4 separate regions of the Homo sapiens genome follow, and regions 2, 3 and 4 are each linked to region 1. The links are contacts of gene promoters, found by promoter capture Hi-C in blood cells and fetal thymus (Javierre and others, 2016). All regions are on one chromosome and are shown on one strand. Each heading gives the region's core, a stretch centred on a gene start or on the middle of the fragment in contact. The rest is flanking DNA. Distances are from core to core; before and after follow the strand shown.

Region 1 (3,164 bases), core at 130-2,629:
TTGCACGTCTCCAATTGTGTGCCACAAGGGAGCAAAACATCCAACGGCTTCTTAACTGTTTTACAATCATCACCTTGGAGGAAAAGAACACTTTGGTAAGATACACGTTTGGCAACTTTTTTAGGCAGAAAAGCTGAACCGGTTAGAATACTTAAAAAAAAAAATCATGAGCTCCAGTCTAAAGAATAAAATAAAAATAAATTAAATAATAATAAAAAATAATAAACTAAAAAAAAAAAAAATAAACTCCAAAAACAACTAGCTAAAATGAAAGTAATGCAGAACTGGATGCCATGTTTCTTTTCTTTGAGGAGGAAGAGGTATGGGAAAGGAGGTACATTGTTGCTTCTTCCCTACACCTTTGTATAATGTAGATCTCTCTCTCTCTCTCAATAGCTTTCTTTTCACTTGTTACATAAAAGCAAAGTGTTACAAAAAGTAGACTCTTGCGGTATCTTCCCACAGTACTTCAAGTAAAATGGAAGAGATACATATGTCAGTTCTGCAGTGTCCCGTTAAAGAGGGCAGCAGTGTTGGGATAAAAATGAGTTAACATGCTCCTTGTAACTATGAATCCGCTTATGCTAAAAAGTATCAAGGTTTCATTTGCTTTATCCCAGACTCCACACTGCGCCCACAGAAGCTTCTCTTGAGAATGTTCTGTTCACCTTTCAAAACACAATGTATTATCGGAGTCACTTTACAATTTTGTGGCAAGTAAGGCTAAAGTCAAAAGCAGCCTCAAACCACCTTTAGTTAGTAAACTGAGGGGTTTGAGGCTCATTAAAAGTAAGAGGATCGGTTACCCCCTCTTGCCAACGTCCGGGATGAATCTCAAGAGTTGTGTTTACAAGGCATACACGGACCCACATCGTTGTGTGCGCCCGAGTACCTTAAACACAGGAAGGATGTCGACCTACGGGGGACGTCTCTGGAGTTTCGTGAACTCCTATGAAAAGGTGGGGAGGGACAGAGAAAGTAGTTCCGTTTTGATTTTTTGAGGTCACTTCTAGGGACTCGACCGCGAGCGCGTCCCGGTAGCGGAAAGCCGGGCCAGCGGCGGCCGACAACGGTCCCGCCCGACACGGCTCTGCCTCCTCCCTAGAAGGGCTCGTGGGCCAGGACCCGCTGTCCGCCCGCCGCCCGAGGTCGGGTGGACGCTTGGCCCCGCCCCCGCCCGCTCCCGACGACCCTCGGAGGCGGCGGAGGCGCGCGACTCACATGTGTGGGTTCCTCCTGAAGGCGTTAGTGATGTCCTTCACAACCCGCTGCACCAGCACCGCCACCTCCTCGCTGGTCTCGGCCATGTTGGCGGCGGCCGCGACAGTTCGGGCGCGCCTCCGCGTGAGCCGGGCCGCCGGCGGGAGTTCCGCGGAGAACGAGCGCGCGCGCGCGCGCGCGGGTGCTTCGGCTAGGCCGCGTCCCCGCCGCCGCGGCCGCCGCCGAGCACTTCCGGGTCAGCCAGTTGGCGGCCTGGGCGTGGCGTTAGCTAGGGTTGGTGGCCTTCCAGTGAGTGGAGAAGTTCGCCTCCGCGCGGGTAACGGACTTTCTAAGCGTCAGAGAAGATGCTGGACATTTGTTTGCAAAGTTCTCTCAGGCCTCCGATTTTCTTATTTTAAGTTTTAGGCGAAACCTCAAGACACACTCCCAGAGAGTCAGACACCTTCCTGAACCCCCCCAGCAAGGTCCCCGGGCATTCCTGAAGGAATGTTCAACTGAGGATGCAGGGCCTCTTAACAGTTAGTCCCGGGCGTTTTTCAGAGCTTGTCTGCTTTATTTTCCCAGCCTGAGAGATGAAGAGGTCCAGAGGCATTGCGGCGGAGCGAGTCCCTATTTGACCGTGTTGGTGACCTCCTTTCTAACTGTGCCAATTTTTGTCTCTGAACTTGAAAGCAGCCTTTTTAAAAAACATTAATTAAAATTCTTAAATTTATTAAAGGAAGAGAAAGGAAAGTGAAGGAAAAGTTATTTGCCATCTGTATGTAGGAAGTAGAAGTGAAATCGTTTTTAGATTTTTCGACTTCATTTTGTACTGCATTTGGTAGCCTTTGCGTCAATTTTGGAATTTAAAAAAAAGGATCAAGGCTCTGACAGGGTTTGTTCATAATAGCAAAAATAAATTTTTGTAGGAAAAACGAGCTTTCTAGTTTATTTAGGATTTTGAAATGCCATAACTAAAATTTTTGTGTATCAGGTTTTCTTTTGCACCTCTGGTAGAAAAATCTGGCTGCCCTTGGTTCAGTTTTATTCTTCCACCCTTGAAATCTGGCCAGGTGCGGTGGCTCACGCCTGTAATCCCAGCACTTTGGGGGGCCAAGGCGGGCGGATCACAAGGTCAGGAGATCGAGACCATCCTGGCTAACACGGTGAAACCCCGTCTCTACTAAAAATACAAAAAAAAAAAAAAAAAAAAAAAAGCCGGGCGTGGTGGCGGGCGCCTGTAATCCCAGCTACTCCCCACTGCACTCCAGCCTGGGCGACAGAGCGAGACTCCGTCTTTAAAAAAAGGCCGGGCGCGGTGGCTCACGCCTGTAATCCCAGCACCTTGGGAGGCCGAGGCGGGTGGATCATGAGGTCAGGAGATCGAGACCATCCTGGCTAACAAGGTGAAACCCCGTCTCTACTAAAAATACAAAAAATTAGCTGGGCGCGGTGGCGGGCGCCTGTAGTCCCAGCTACTCGGGAGGCTGAGGCAGGAGAATGGCGTGAACCCGGGAAGCGGAGCTTGCAGTGAGCCGAGATTGCGCCACTGCAGTCCGCAGTCCGGCCTGGGCGACAGAGCGAGACTCTGTCTCAAAAAAAAAAAAAAAGAAATCTGTATCTTTAAAAAGCTATTAAAAAAATAAACTCATGGTGTGTTTAATGTGAACATATGCGGAGCGTTTGAAGTAGTTTTTATGATTGTAAAAGTAAAAGCTATCTATTGCATGTAAAGTGAATGAGAAATATAAACGAAAAATATAAATTTACTATACTCAGTGGCCAGTATTTCCTGTGGGTATGTTTATAAAGGCTGGAGTTAGCCTTCTGGTTGTAAAAGAAGTGAGATAGGACCGGGCACGGTGGCTTACACCTGTAATCCCAGCACTTTGGGAGGCAGAGGCGGAAGGATCACGAGGTCAGGAGTTCGAGACCATCGTGGCCAAGACAGTGAAACGCCGTCT
Region 2 (2,859 bases), core at 207-2,706, 330 kb before region 1:
TGTTCCATGCTTTTATATTTTATTTTATTTTATTTATTTTGAGATAGGGTCTCGCTCTGTTGCCCAGGCTGGAGGGCAGTGTCCATGCTTTATTTTTTCTGCAGAGCACTAATTACCAACCAACTGCCCTCCTCCTGCCCACAACTAGAGATGCAAATGATTTCTATTTGGTAGAAAGATAACCCTAAAGGTTATAATTGTATTGCCTTAAGGACATTAGCCAGTTTTGTTTTATTTTATTTTATTGTTGAGACGGAGTCTCGCTCTGTCACCCAGGCTGTAGTGCAGTGGTGCAATCTCGGCTCACTGCAACCTCCGCTTCCTGGGTTCAAGCGATTCTCATGCCTCAGTCTCCCATGTTGCTGGGATTACAGATGCCCACCACTATGCCTAATTTTTGTGTTTTTGGTAGAGGTGGGGTTTCACCACGTTGGCCAGGCTGGTTTCAATCTCCTGACCTCAGATGATCCACCCGCCTCGGCTTCCCAAAGTTCTGGGATTACAGGTGTGAGCCACCATGCCCAGTCGCAACCGGTTTTACTTCAAACCTAGTAATTTTATTCTAACATTCTTTTAAAAATGTCTATAAATACTTAGGTCCTCCAAATACTTTTTGGACCAGCTTTACCATCTTACTTGTTTCATCATTAATGATTAATAAATCTCTGATATGTGTTCATTCCATCTTTGTTATGGGAGTTATGTTTTTTAACTTTTAAAAAAGTATGCATTGGCATCTAGAAGTTTTTCCCAGGGGCTAAAATCTGCTTTTGGATGAAATTCAGTACATCAGTAGTTTAGGACTTCGGGTGTTTGGGGGCGACCTGCACTAAGCCATGCAAGTGCGTGCGGAGCCTCTTGAGTTGTGGCTCCCGTTGGTGTACCCAGGGGGTCTGGAAATTCCAGGAAGCTTATGAGGACCTGGATCTGCTGGGCCCCAGGAACGGCCAGTACTTCCTCAGCAACCACTATGCGCCATGCACATTCTGAAAGCTTTCTATGTGTTAGCTTATCCTCACACGGTCTCCCTGAGATAAACACTAGTTTGCAGATGAGGAAACAAGCTCAGAGGGTTTAAGGAACTCTGAGGATCACAGTTTAAGCAAAAATTATAGAAGAAAGACCTAAATAAAGTGGTTCTATGTGCATCAAGGTGGTTAAATGGTTTTTTTCTCTAGTTCTGCAATTTCATCTAAGATCAAAGCCAAGAGGGGGAAGCTAAGGTATAGTCTATGGTAGGAGCAGCCTTGCCTGTGGGGGCAGACCACACCCACACAGGCAGATACCATCCATCAGGGGACTGTGGTCTCCTGTGGGACAGACAGACTTCCAGGGAGCTTGCTGAGAGGTGCCAGTTCAAAGACTAGACCCTCCCACCAGCTGTCTTCCCACCGTCATCCTGGTGATGTGAGAGGGGTGTTGTCATTGGCGGGGGATGGGTGCAGAATTCAGGAAAGGAGCTACTTACTCGCCACTCCACTCTGGGAGGCAAGGGAATATTGACCTCGTCAAGGGAGGCGAATCCCAAGAGCATCACTGTGAAGGCTGGGGGCCTGTGCCCTCCACTTGCCTCCCCACACACTGAACTGGGTGCTGGTAACGTCTTATCTACATGTGGCCGAGGGACCGGACCAGCAGAAGGTGTGGTGCTGTGGGTGGTGAGAGAGATAATAGGAAGCAATGGCTCTGGGATGGGCAGGGGAGAGACAGCCAGGGGTGCCCCTCCCTTCCTCTGAGGGTGAGGAGGATGGTTGCTGGATGCTTCAGGAGCTTGCTGGCTGGGGAGATGGTGGCTGCAGGCGGCTGGGGACACAACCTGTGTGGAAGAGGTGTGCACTTTAGAGGTGTGCACAGATTGGTACCAGTCTGTGGCCTGTTAGGAACTGTGCCACACAGCAGGAGGCGAGCAACAAGTGAACAAAGCTTCATGTGTATTTACAGCCGCTCGCCGTCGCTGGCTCACATTACCGCCTGAGCTCCGCCTCCTGTCAGATCTGCGGCAGCATTAGATTCTCATAGGAGTGTGAACCCTATCGTGAACTGTGCATGCGAGGGATCTAGGTTGCAGGCTCCTTATGAGAATCTAATGCCTGATGATCTGTCACTGTCTCCCATCAGCCCTAGAAGGGACCATTGAGTTGCAGGAAAACCAGTTCAGGGCTCCCACTGAATTATACAGTTCACCATAGAATTGTGAACTGTATAATTATACAATTCTATGGTGAATTGTATAATTATTTCATTATATAACAATCAGAGAAATAAAGTGCACAATAAATATAATGTGCTTGAATCATCCCCCTCCGTGGCACCCGGTCTCTGGAAAGACTGTCTTCCATGAAACTGGTCCCTGGTGCCAAAAAAGGTGGAGACTGCTGCTTTAGAGGACTGTGGCTAAGGGGTCAGCTGGAAGATGGGGCCCAGGGCTCAGGGACCCTGAATGCCCGGTTGCTGCCAATTGTTTGTCTTCATTGATCTCCTGGTCAGTGGACCAGATCAGCAGAATGAACCAGCAAGGCGAGGACTGTGACCTTCCCAAGGGCAACTCTTAATGTAGGGGAACCTCTGTGCACCTCCTACCCATGCCCCTTCCCATAAAGGGACTCAAAGAAGGAGACAGGGAGGGAGGGAGGGAGCTGAGAGCAAGTCCCGCTCTCCTAGGCCAGTGCTCAATTCCAGTCTGGGGATGGGGAAGTAGGGCAGACTGATTTGAATAAGAGATGTGGTTTGCAAATCAATGGAAGAAAACCAGGAAGGAAAACATTATAAGAACCAAAAGAGACCCAAAAGTCTAACGCTGAGTTCATCCGTGTGCGATGACAAGCCTGTCCCAGGTGGGTGCAGGTGGGAGTTGTTGGA
Region 3 (2,829 bases), core at 101-2,600, 490 kb after region 1:
AGAGACCAACTAAATACAATGGTAGAGAGAGGAAGCGAGAGAGATGGGGAGAAAAAGAGAGAGAGAGATGAACTAAAGACAATGGTAGAGAGAGGAAATGAGAGAGATTTTGTTCTGATATAATTTTTTTTTTTTTGAAACCAGGTATTGCTGTGTCACCCAGGCTGGAGTGTAGTGGTGCCATCACGGCCCACTGCAGCCTCAACCTCCCCAGGCTCAGGTGATCCTCCCCCCTCAGTTTTTGTTTTTTTCCTTTTTGTGGAGAATGGGTCTTGCTGTATTGCCCAGGCAGGTCTCAAACTCCTGGGCTCAGGCTATCCTCCTGCCTCTGCCTCCCTAAGAGCTGGGATTACAGGTGTGAGACACCGTGCCCACCCACAGTTTTTACATTTTTAGTAGAGACGAGGTTTTGCCATGTTGCCCAGGCTGGACTCCAAATCCTGGGCTCAAGCGATTCACCCTCCTTGGCGTCCCAAAGTGCTAAGATTACAGGCATGGGCCACTGAGTCAAGCCTGTACTGATATAATTCTCAAATTATCAGTTACCAAGAAATTTGCCACAAGCAATAATATCCACAATACCAAGAAACTGAAGGAGAGTAATAAGTATGGCATACAGTCTAGCAATTCTAAACTTTGGTATCTATCCTAGAGAAATGCTTGCACATGTACATAAAGACATATCCCTGAAACACTGTAAAAATGAAAAACTGGAAGCAATCTATATGTCAAATTAGTAGAGTAATGGATAAAGTGTCATATACTCACATAAAAACTCTACAGCAATAAAAGGGAATTAGATTTATATGTATCAACATGGACACATTTCAAAATATATACTTTTTAATATAAAATCAAATTGTATAACTATTCTTAGTTTATTTTTATATTAATACATTTATGTATGTATTTAATATATTGTGTTTATGTAATACATTTGCACTCAAAATATTATTACATATTCTCTATAGAAAAAATGCATGTAAAATACAAAAATGGCTTGAAAGGACATTATACACTGCACAAGCGCATACGAGTAGTTAACTCTGGAGGATAAAGGATAAAGCAACAAGACTGAGAGAGATAAACGTCAAATGCACACTAATTTTATTTGTATTATTCTCACTTTTAAAAAGGGAATGTAATCATATGTTTCACATGTAATTTATTTTTTATTTTGAAGCAGAGTCTCACTCTGTTGCCCAGGCTGGAGTGCAGTGGCAGTCTCGGCTCACTGCAACCTCCACCTCCTGGGTACAAGCAATTCTCATGACTCAGCCTCCTGAGTAGCTGGGACCCCAGGCACACACCACCACGCCCAGCTAATCTTTTTGTAATTTTAGTAGAGACAGGGTTTCGCCATGTTGGCCAGGCTGGTCTTGAACTCCTGGCCTCAAGTGATCCGCCTGCCTCCCAAAGTGCTGGGATTACAGGCATGAGCCACTGTGCCCGGCCCCACGTGTAATTTTTTAAAAAGTAGATAATAGGAAAGAACAAAAACTAGAAGATATGTCAAATTGCCATGTGTTAATTTTTTTTGATTGTAGGAATGTGGATGAATGGTGACTGGTTTCTGCTCTGTGCTTTTTGGATATTCAAATTTCCTAAATAACAAAAATACAAAAATAATTTTAATTCTAAAAAAAAATTATATCTACTAATGAAAGCAGTGGAAATGAGAACTTAAAACCAGCCCGTTTCTGGGGGAGCTCGGCAGCATCCCAGCTTGTTAGAACAATGCTAGGATGAAAGTGCCACTCTAGGAGACTGATACCAAAAGACTCGTTTTATAATTTAGGTAGCTGGTTTCTGAAGTTTTACCACAGTTCTGACAACTACCAATTTTCTTTCCTTTGGGAAGTAACGGGGTAGGAGAAGAAACATTCGTCCACTCCCGAAGTCCTCCCAGAGCTCTGCTTATGTTCCTGGCCTTCCCTGGGCAAGAAGGACTGTGAGTTCAATAAGCACAGACTTCCAGCAAAGGAGATTACACAGTGCTTTAGCAACTCATTCATCTTTCTGAAACTGAAGGTCAGTTCTTCTGGAACAATTTAATACTGTTTTCTCATTTTACATCCTTGAAAGCGATGAAGGCCCATTCATCTTTAGGCTCTCTATTGTAACACATCACAAAGAACACTTGAAATGTTACATTAATTGTGATTATTTTTTTGAATCTTTCCGTCAGTTTTTGCACCCAATAAATAGAAATTTTAGAAAGAGGCCAGTCTGTTGAGACACTGATCCAGCATATAGAAATGAAATCAGTAAAGGTGCTTAGAACCATAGCTGGTGTGTGGTAAATGCTGTTGTATTAGCTATTACTACCAATTCTACAGCTACTACTATGCAGTTCCAATGTTAATACTACTACAGTAAGAAGCAGCAGACATTTTGATCATTTTAAACTTTTGTATGATGTTTGAAACAAATGTTTAAAAACGAAAAACATTTTTAAACATTCTCTCAAGAAGGTTTTCATATCTCCAGCAGAAGCCTGCTGTATGGGGTTTTAGTTCCTCCGTGGGAGGGGCACTGGTTTTCCTCAGATCCCTAATCCCTGCCTAGATCTGTTCCACCAATTCTTTAACAAGATTGATTAGAAAGTGTGTGGTTTTGCTCAGCGTTTGGGGGGATAGAATGGGACTTGGTCCTGGGTACCAAGGACTTGAGTTTTACCATCTGCCTTCTTCCCTCCCTTTCAGGCCATGAAGGTTCACTTATTTACTTTATGAATTTGCCAAAAGCAAAAGTAATATGCCCTCAGTTAGAGACGGTCTCACAGGGTTCTATTACCTGCACCTTGTTCCAATTTCTTGTGGCACCATT
Region 4 (3,040 bases), core at 386-2,885, 510 kb after region 1:
AAAATAAAAGCCTTCTTGCCATCATTCCTAATTCTATAAATAACTACTGCTAATAGTTTGATGAATCTCATGTATGACAAGGACTTGGTACTTCTGTCACCATTTTTTATTTTCTCCCTTATGACACCAATAATTCATCATAGTATTCTTTTCCCTTGAGCTTGGATATTCTCAATTGGCCATTCTTGGCAGCTATTTTTGATAGACTAGAGTTGATGTTTATGATGAAACCAGTTGACCATCCTTGGTATATATAATTTTAATCCTTTACACATAAATATGCACATTATTTAGGTGATTTTTAGAGACTGTTGCTGTTGGAATATTAGTGGAAAGTTGTGGCATTTTTGAGCTGAAAAGCCTTTAAAGATTATCTGATAGCCCTACTATTTGATATGAGATGAGGAAACGTTCTTTTATAAAAAATTACTCAGTTTTTATTTATATAGAGATGAGAAAGATAAACATGGAAGTAAAAAGAAAATAAATTTTGAAATACCCAACTTATTAAAATATGATAGAATTTTGTTGAAGAATATAAAATCAAGACCTGAAGAAATGGAGGTGCGTGATACGTTCCTAGAAACATAAAGTTAATGTCATTATTAACATGTCAGACCAGGTGCAGTGGCTCATGTGCGTAATCCCAGCACTATGGGAGGCCAAGGCAAGTGATTGCTTGAGTCCAGCAGTTGGAGACCAGCCTGAGCAACATGGCAAAACCCCATCTCTACAAAAAATACAAAAATTAGCCAGGCCTGGCTGCGCACCTGTAGTCCTAGCTACTTAGGAAACTGAGATGAGAGGATCACCTGAGCCTGGGGAGGTAGAGGATGTAGTGAGCCATGATTGTGCCACCGCACTCCAGCCTGGGTGACAGAGTGAGACTCTGTCTGCAAAAAAAACAAAAACAAAAAAAGTCAATCCTTTGTAAATTAATACATACATTTGATACAATTACAATGAGAGTCTCAACAGGTAAGTTTACAAGTTGATTCTAAACTTCATCTTGAAGAATAAATGTGCCAGAAAACCCAAGGAGATTTTGAAAAAGCAAAGTTGTAAATAAGATTTTTGTCTACCACATGTTGAAGTATACTGTAAAGTTGTTGATTTAAAAATAAGCGTGATACTGGTATAGAAGATGAGAGGAGCAGAATGTAGAAACCAGGAACAGATCGAAATGTACATGAGAACTTATTATAAAAGTGGCAGTTTAATTAAGTGTGGGATATTTTAAGAGATAGGAAAAACCAAAGTTGTTTTTGCTATTCTCAAACTCAACACAGCACAGAACACTTCTACACCAGATGTGTGGGGTTTTTTCCCCACACCCTGCAATTCAGTTCAATTCTGACACTAACCAAAAATTAGTGCAGGACCCATAGTTTAGGGGCTCAGTCACACAGGACTGCCCTCCACTTTATATGCCATTTGTAAGTCTTAGGTTGTGCCCTGTACTTCTGACCAACCAGCTGTAAATTGAGGTTCTCAGGACCCCTTTCTTGGTCCAGTTATTTGCTAGGATGGGAAACACTTAGGTTTACCCATGTATTATAAAGGATACTACAGAAGATGCAGATGATTAGCAAAATACAGGGCGAGGTCTGGAAGGGTCCGGAGTGCAGGAGCTTCTTTCCCCACTTTCCCAGCATATGGATGTGTTTCGTAATCTGGGAACTCTCTGAAACCCATGGTTCAGGGAATTTTATGGAGGCTTCATCACATGGGTATAAGAAACTCAATCTCTAGCCCTGCTTCCCTTCCCAGAGGATGGGGAGTAGGTTGGTGGGGCTGAAGGTTCTAAGTTTCTGTTCATGGCTTTATCTTTCTGGTGACCAGCCCACATCCAGGAGCCCAACAAGAGTTGCCTCATTAGAAAAAGACACACTTGTCACCTAGGAAATTCCAAGGGATTAGGAGTTCTGTGTCAGGAATTGAGGACAGAGACTAAATAATTTTTTTTTTTTTTTTTTTTTTTTGGGACGGAGTGTCACTGTCGCCCAGGCTGGGGTGCAGTGGTGCAATCTCGGCTCACTGCAACCTCTGTCTCCCGAGCTCAAGTGATTCTTCCACCTCAGCCTTCCAAGTAGCTGGTATTACAAGCACCCACCACCACACCTGGCTAATTTTTGTATTTTTAGTAGAGACAGGGTTTCGCCATGTTGGCCAGGCTGGTCTTGAACTCCTGACCTCAAGTGATCCGCCCGCCTTGGCCTCCCACAGTGCTGGGATTACAGGTGTGAGCCACCATACCCGGCCTACATATTTCTTAATACAGGCTGAGTATCCCTTATCTGCAACACTTGGGACCAGAAGTGTTTTGGATTTTGGATTTGTTTTGAGTTTAGAATATTTGCATTATACTTATCGGTTCAACATCCCCAATCTGAAAATCTGAAATATGAAACACCCCAATGACCATTACCATTGAATGTCATGTTGGCACACAAGAAGTTTTGGATTTTGGAGCATTTTGGATTTTGGAGTATACAGGGATACTCAACCTGTATATCACAGTATCATAATGTAAATTATTCAAATTGAGCTGTGATAATTATCTTATTATATAACTTTAAAAAAGTTAATTTTTTAAAGATAAATTTAGAGCTTTACCTAACACCCTACACATAAATAAAATTTAAGTATATAAACGTCAAGCACTTTTTCCACGAAGGTTCACATGGCCTTGAGAGTACCAAATGTAAAACAGCTCATCATTAGTTGTTGAAATTATTGCCATTAAACAAGTATACTAACTGGCCATGTATTCCTTGAGTAGAATGGTGGGTAGAATAATCTCTGGCATGTATTTATGTAGTCATTTTCCAAATATTTATTGAGTACCTATACATTGGGGATACTCTTCCCTCATGGAATTTATAGTTAGGGGCATAAGGAGGGACAGTTAGATAAGTAAAATGTATATATGTTAGGTGGTGATAAGTGCTACATAGAAAAATAAAGCAGAAAAGGAGGATAGGAGTGACAGAGTGGAGTTTTACAGTTTTAAATAACCTGATCAGGAAAGATCTCACTG

Evidence for each region. Contacts are between HindIII fragments. The CHiCAGO score rates a contact against its expected background, and 5 or more counts as called.
Region 2: a contact is called between a fragment that was not itself captured here and the fragment with the promoter of PTAR1 in region 1, in 1 of 17 cell types (endothelial precursors). The highest score is 5.3, in endothelial precursors.
Region 3: a fragment that was not itself captured here is called in contact with the fragment with the promoter of PTAR1 in region 1 in 6 of 17 cell types (non-activated CD4 T cells, total CD8 T cells, naive CD8 T cells and 3 more); the score reaches 8.6 in non-activated CD4 T cells.
Region 4: a contact is called between a fragment that was not itself captured here and the fragment with the promoter of PTAR1 in region 1, in 3 of 17 cell types (total CD8 T cells, non-activated CD4 T cells and naive CD4 T cells). The highest score is 7.8, in total CD8 T cells.

The regions. Positions count from the first base shown.
Region 1 is chr9:69,758,632-69,761,795 of GRCh38, forward strand. It overlaps PTAR1 (protein prenyltransferase alpha subunit repeat containing 1), which reads right to left and starts at 1,380. Exons shown (of 8, transcript NM_001099666.2): 1 at 1,222-1,380. The coding sequence starts at 1,307. LOC105376076 (a long non-coding RNA gene) reads left to right here and starts at 1,464. Exons shown (of 4, transcript XR_929910.3): 1 at 1,464-1,842. RefSeq lists enhancers at 878-927, 2,402-3,164 and a silencer at 1,068-1,537. The HindIII fragment of the contact is 9,606 bases long and covers 642-3,164 here.
Region 2 is chr9:69,423,678-69,426,536 of GRCh38, forward strand. No RefSeq gene overlaps it. Among named protein-coding and RNA genes, the nearest start is that of ENTREP1, 100 kb to the left of the region's middle. The HindIII fragment of the contact is 930 bases long and covers 992-1,921 here.
Region 3 is chr9:70,250,696-70,253,524 of GRCh38, forward strand. The region is part of intron 2 of SMC5-DT (SMC5 divergent transcript); the gene reads right to left. Among named protein-coding and RNA genes, the nearest start is that of SMC5-DT, 6.8 kb to the right of the region's middle. The HindIII fragment of the contact is 2,969 bases long and covers 1-2,829 here.
Region 4 is chr9:70,268,685-70,271,724 of GRCh38, forward strand. The region is part of intron 3 of SMC5 (structural maintenance of chromosomes 5); the gene reads left to right. Among named protein-coding and RNA genes, the nearest start is that of SMC5, 11 kb to the left of the region's middle. The HindIII fragment of the contact is 5,613 bases long and covers 1-3,040 here.